2 separate regions of the Homo sapiens genome follow, and region 1 is linked to region 2. Evidence: promoter capture Hi-C in 16 types of primary human blood cells and fetal thymus (Javierre and others, 2016). All regions are on one chromosome and are shown on one strand. Each heading gives the region's core, a stretch centred on a gene start or on the middle of the fragment in contact. The rest is flanking DNA. Distances are from core to core; before and after follow the strand shown. Region 1 has its middle 2.8 kb from the start of MIR3913-2. Region 2 holds the start of CAND1 (cullin associated and neddylation dissociated 1).

What was found. Contacts are between HindIII fragments. The CHiCAGO score rates a contact against its expected background, and 5 or more counts as called.
Region 1: a fragment that was not itself captured here is called in contact with the fragment with the promoter of CAND1 in region 2 in 4 of 17 cell types (neutrophils, total B cells, fetal thymus and 1 more); the score reaches 11.0 in neutrophils.

Annotation. Positions count from the first base shown.
Region 1 is chr12:69,580,603-69,583,302 of GRCh38, reverse strand. No RefSeq gene overlaps it. Among named protein-coding and RNA genes, the nearest start is that of MIR3913-2, 2.8 kb to the left of the region's middle. The HindIII fragment of the contact is 3,759 bases long and covers 1-2,700 here.
Region 2 is chr12:67,268,091-67,270,790 of GRCh38, reverse strand. CAND1 (cullin associated and neddylation dissociated 1) reads right to left here and starts at 1,433. Exons shown (of 15, transcript NM_018448.5): 1 at 1,006-1,433. The coding sequence starts at 1,073. RefSeq lists enhancers at 667-1,318, 1,598-1,857, 1,998-2,297. The HindIII fragment of the contact is 8,089 bases long and covers 204-2,700 here.

The DNA of each region.
Region 1 (2,700 bases), core at 15-2,514, 2.3 Mb before region 2:
ACCCTTCCTTCTTTCCTACTTCCCCCTCCTTTGATGACACCTCTACACCTAGAGGCTAAACACTCAGCTTCTAGACCCAGACTATATGAGTTTGAATTTCAACCATTTTACGTACTAGCTTTGTAGTCTTGGGTGGGTTTCACAGGCTCTTTAAATCAGTTCATTGAAGGCCATTCAGAGCGTGATCAATGTGCTGGTTTACCAAAAACTGTCTCTTTTAGCTGTTTATACTTTTTTGTTGTTGTTGTTGTTGTTGAAACAGAGTTTCACTCTGTCGCTCGGGCTGGAGTGCAGTGGTATGATCTCAACTCACTGCAACCTCCGCCTCCCGGGTTCAAGCAATTCTCCTGCCTCAGCCTCCCAAATAGCTGGGACTACAGGCATGCACCACCACAGCTGGCTAATTTTTGTATTTTTAGTAGAGACAGGGTTTAACCATGTTGGCCAGGGTGGTCTCGAACTTCTGACCTCAAGCAATCTGCCCACCTCAGTCTCCCAAAGTGCTGGGATTACAGGCATGAGCCACCACACCTATATATATATTTTTTAATTGAGACAGGGTCTTACTCTGTCACCCAGGCAGGAGTGCAGTGGTGTGATCTCCACTCACTGCAACCTCTGCCTCCTGACTTCAAGCGATCCTCCGACCTGTCTCCCGAGTAGCTGGAAATACAGGCATGCGCCACCACACCAGCTAATTTTTTGTATTTTTGGTGGAGACGGGATTTTGCCATGTTTCTCAGGCTGGTCTTGAACTCCTGAATTCATGCGATCTGCCCACCTTGGCCTCCCAAAGTGCTGGAATTACAGGCAGAAGCCACTGTGCCCATCTATTTATACATTTTATCGTAATTTGTATTAGATAGGTTACAGGGCCTATGGAGATAGTGAGACCTTGGGAATCCATGTTTCTGTGATTAAACACGTTGTGTGACTTTCTCCTGGCTCATCTTCTGTCCTCTACTCTCAAGTCCCTTGGTCTTGGCTTCTCTTAGTTAACCCTTCCTCCTCCCTCAAAGTCTTTGTGACCCTCTCCTCTCTATGACCCTGTGTCCTCCTCTCTCTTCCCCTTGGTATAATTTGGCTTTCAGTGAATTGGCTTTTTGTTAACTGGTCAGCTTCCAGTTATATAATCTCTCTGTGCCTCAATTTCCCTTTGTGTAAAATGGAGATAATTATCACAGATTAAATAGCTTAGAACAGTGCCTGTTTAGCTTAGCTATTGTTATCATTATATCCCAAGTCTTCTAATAGGCTTTATAAATATAGTAGCCGAGGTTGGATATGCTTGGCATGTTATGGAAGTAGGAAAGCACTGTAGCATATCATTATTTGATGGCTAGAGGTGATTTGGGAGCAAGGGTAGATTCATTAACTGGAGTGAAATAACTGGCGAAGTGGCAAACAACCACCAGAACAGAGTTATGGGACTTGTCAACATTCCTCAGGAACAGTTAGAATACCTGGGGAAGGAAACCAAATAAAGGACCAGGAGTCCACAGTCACATTAAGTTGGGTCCACCCAGACACCTACTGTTTGGGTAGTAGGGAGAAGGTTAGAAGACTTGATATTTCTCCTGTTGCAGACCGTGATAGTTTGTACACAGGAATCAGTCTGTGGAGCACACTTAGAGGAGCACTTTAAAAAAAAAAAAAACAGGGTCTCATTATGTTGCCCAGGCTGGACCACAGTGGCAGGATCACAGTTCATTGCAGCCTCAACCTCCCAGGCTTAATCTATCCTCCTGCCTCAGTCTCTTGAGTAGCTGGGACTACAAGCACACACCACCACGCCAGTTGATTTTTGTATTTTTTCATAGAAACAGGTTTTCACCATGTTGCCCAGGCTGGTCTCAAACTTCTGGGCTGAAGTGATCCACCCTCCACAGCCTCCCAAAGTGCTGGGATTACGGGCATGAGCCACCATGCCCAGCCCCCAAATATATCTTAAATCTCAATGAACTGACACCATCAACCATCTCAGTCACCCAAACCAGATAACTGGGGGTCATCCTTGACCCCTCCATTTCTGTCATTCCCCTTATCAATCAGAGGTGTTAATTCTTCCTCCTTTAGGCCCTCTATTACATTGGTGGCCCTGAATAAACTACACTTTTGATGTTCATGCTTTTATATGAGCCACTGTAATTCAACAAAATACAACAGAATTGACATTGTGCCAGTTCTGGGCTTAGGCCTCAAGAAAGCCTAGCAGCATCTACTTTTGTGCTCTTGGGAACCCTAAGCTGCCATGTAAGAAGACCACATGAAGAAAGACCCAAGACTTCATGGAAGAAAACTAAGGAACACAGCTGAGAGCTTTAAGTTCCAGACATAACCTAGTGGAACTGGTCCAGCCAGCCCTCAGCTGCTTGAATCATACTAGCATAGGCACAAAGCATATGAGGAAGCCAGGCCTCCAGACATCATGTGAGATGAGCCATCTCTGCTGTGCCCTGCCCATCTCGATCTATAGCAACTTGAGACATTAAATGATTGCTGCTTTAAGCCACTAACTTTTAGGGTGGTTTGTTGCACAGCAGTAAACAATCTAAACAGTCCTTTAACAATGCCTTTGAATACGGATTTATCAGATCTGGCTCCATTTCTGAAAAAGCCTCTCAACCAGTCTCCCTGCTTTATTAAAATACCGTAGGGCCAGCTACTTGGGAGGCAGAGCCAGGAGAATGGCATGAACCT
Region 2 (2,700 bases), core at 184-2,683:
TTTCTTTTTTTTTTTTTTTTTAGATTGAGAACTTATTTGTGAAGAGATGGGAGGCGGGAAAGAATGCAACAATCACCGAAGCGTGCAAGGAAAAATAAAAACAAAGATAACCTGTAAAAATATAACAAATCTTCACTATGCATATTACAACACTTTGGAACCAACAGTACCGATCTCCTGAACAGAACTGCTGTAATAAAGCTTCATATTCACCAGGTCCGTATTAAACATCTCTTCCTTTTGAAGATCCGTCTGCTATGATTAAGATCCAGCAATCCACCCCTTTGGCAGTGATTTTGGATATGAGGACATGAGACTGAAACCCCGAGTTCCTAAGTTGGTTTTACCTGACAAGAGGAACTGACAGTGATGCTGGCGGGAAAACCCTATGAGCGAAGTTTCCTCCATCCTGGCTCCCCTCCCCCTTCTTCCCACCTTCACGAAAATTAATAATCCACAAAAGAACTATGTATCAGCCAAGAGCGCAAAAGTTCATCATTCCACCTGAATGCAGCAAGGCCCACGCGCACCTGCGGGCAGAGAGGAGGCTGCCGGGTCCCCGAGTGGGCAGCAGCTTGGGCCCCAGCGAGCAAGGCGGCCTAGCGCCGCAGGATGGCAAGCGAATAGGCCCGGCGCCCGGTCTCCCGGCCTAGAGCAACTCCCTTCTCCACAATGGTGGGTGGTTTAGCCCCTTCGCGCTACCTGAGACGCAAGAATCGCCTCCTGGTGGGGCAGGGAAGGATGTGGGGGCGCTGAGACAAGCAAACGGGGCCTAGAGACCGCGGCGGGCAACTGCCTAGGAGAAAGAATGGGGGGAGGGGGTTGCAAGAGGGGAGAGGAAAGGGGCTCCGCAGGGATCGGGAGGCCAGCGGACCGGTGGGCTGGAGACTTCGGGGCAGAGAAGCTACCGGCTACGGCCGAAGGGGTGGGGCAAGGCCTGCGTGACGGCCAGGGCCGCGGCTGCGAGAACCCCGAGGTGGGGTGAGGGTCGGATCTCGGCCTCACCTAAAGTCCTTGTCGCTGGATGTCATTTTTTCCAGCAAATTGGAAATGTGGTACGAGGCGCTCGCCATGTTGACGGCCTCGATCCCGCCTGCTGGCGCTGCTGGAGCTGCTGCCCGCTGCCGCTGCCGCCGCCGCCGCCGCCACTGGAGCTCCTCCTCTCGCTCGCGGCGGCTCCCGCTTCCAGGGTCGCAGCGCGACGCCGACGCTGACTAGGGAGGCGCCTCGACGGGCTGCCCCCTCCCTGGCGAGGCGTGGGCCTGTCCCGGGGTAAGCCGAGGCTACAGAGCCAGCCTAACGACGGCGCTGTTCGCGTGAGAACGAGCTCATGGGCGGCGGGGCGTACAGAAGGGCCTCTACGGGGAGCCAGACACTTCCACTCAGGGCCGTCTCGCTCCCACTCGCTCCGCACTCGCTCCCTAGGGCAAAAGGCCAAAGCCCGCCTCCTTCGCTCCGGGGGCGGGGGCGGCAGACGCGGGCGCTACGGAAAGCTAAGGTCAGAGTTCACGGAGGCCTCCCCACGCACGCTGTGGAGAAGAGAGTTAAAAAACAATTCGGTTGGCTGAAGCCTGTGTCAGTTTTCATGTGACCCGCCTTTTGGAGGCATGACAACACAAAAAAAAGGGGCTGTTCTCGCGAGACTCTAAAGCGACGGTTAAGGGACAGGGGACGAGTGGAGCAAGTGGGCCTTAATCTGAAAATAACTTGATTGTTTAATGACATTAAGAGAAAAAGATTACGAGCTTTGAGAAGGAGGAAGCCTGGGAGTAACGACAGTTAAGGAGTTAGCTTGCGGAACCAACATAAGAATTTATAACAGGGAGGTGTCGTTTGGGATCAGACGCGTGGCCTGCATTGCCGTAGCCACCGTGGTGTAATGTTGCCACGTAAAAACCACAAATCCCAGAATTCAGTCGGGTGATACACTGGCTCAGAATGTGATTGGCTGCGGGAACTAGTAGCTTCCTCATTGGCTCCCGTGGAAGGAGTGAATGCTGGGATTTGCAGTCTGATGGGGGAGCCGTGCTGGGTAAAAACCTTAGAATCGTCGCGCACTCCGTTTCTGCCGCGGATTCTTATATTCTCCAATACAGGCTTTTTCTGTTATGCAGTATTTGCAGAGCAGGCTGCTGCAGTTTGGCCAGGCGCATTGCGGATCAGTTGGTGTTCTTGCCAGAGGCCTAGCAGCAGCTTCCTAGCGCTACTACTTGCACCTCCCAAGGCAGCTGAGCCTCCCCACTTCTCTGGCCAGACACACTCCTACCGTGCATCGTAGAACCACCTCTCTGACGCCAGCAGGACCTTAGTAAGAGTAATGGGTATGCGACAGATGGCTGTAGTCAGGCCCTACTGATTTCAAAATAGCTAAAAGACTATCTCTGTAGTTAGCTTTTGTGGCCTTGATGGACCTGCAGCTGTGTATTGCTCCCTCAGACGTACAAATTCGTGGAGATGAGTTATGAAAGTATTTAGTATCCAAGTTTTTCATCTGCTTAATATTTGGGATTTTAAACACAAGTTTTGCCAGCTAGGGGTCAACATCCCTGAAAGTGTTAGGGATGGAGCTAGCTGACAGGCCTTTCTAAAAGAACAGAGAGCCTGGTGAAGAGATGAAAAATCAATCTCACTTGATACTCCTGTTAAAAACAACAACAAACCTTTAAATAGCTCTCTACTAACACATAACTCAAATCCGAT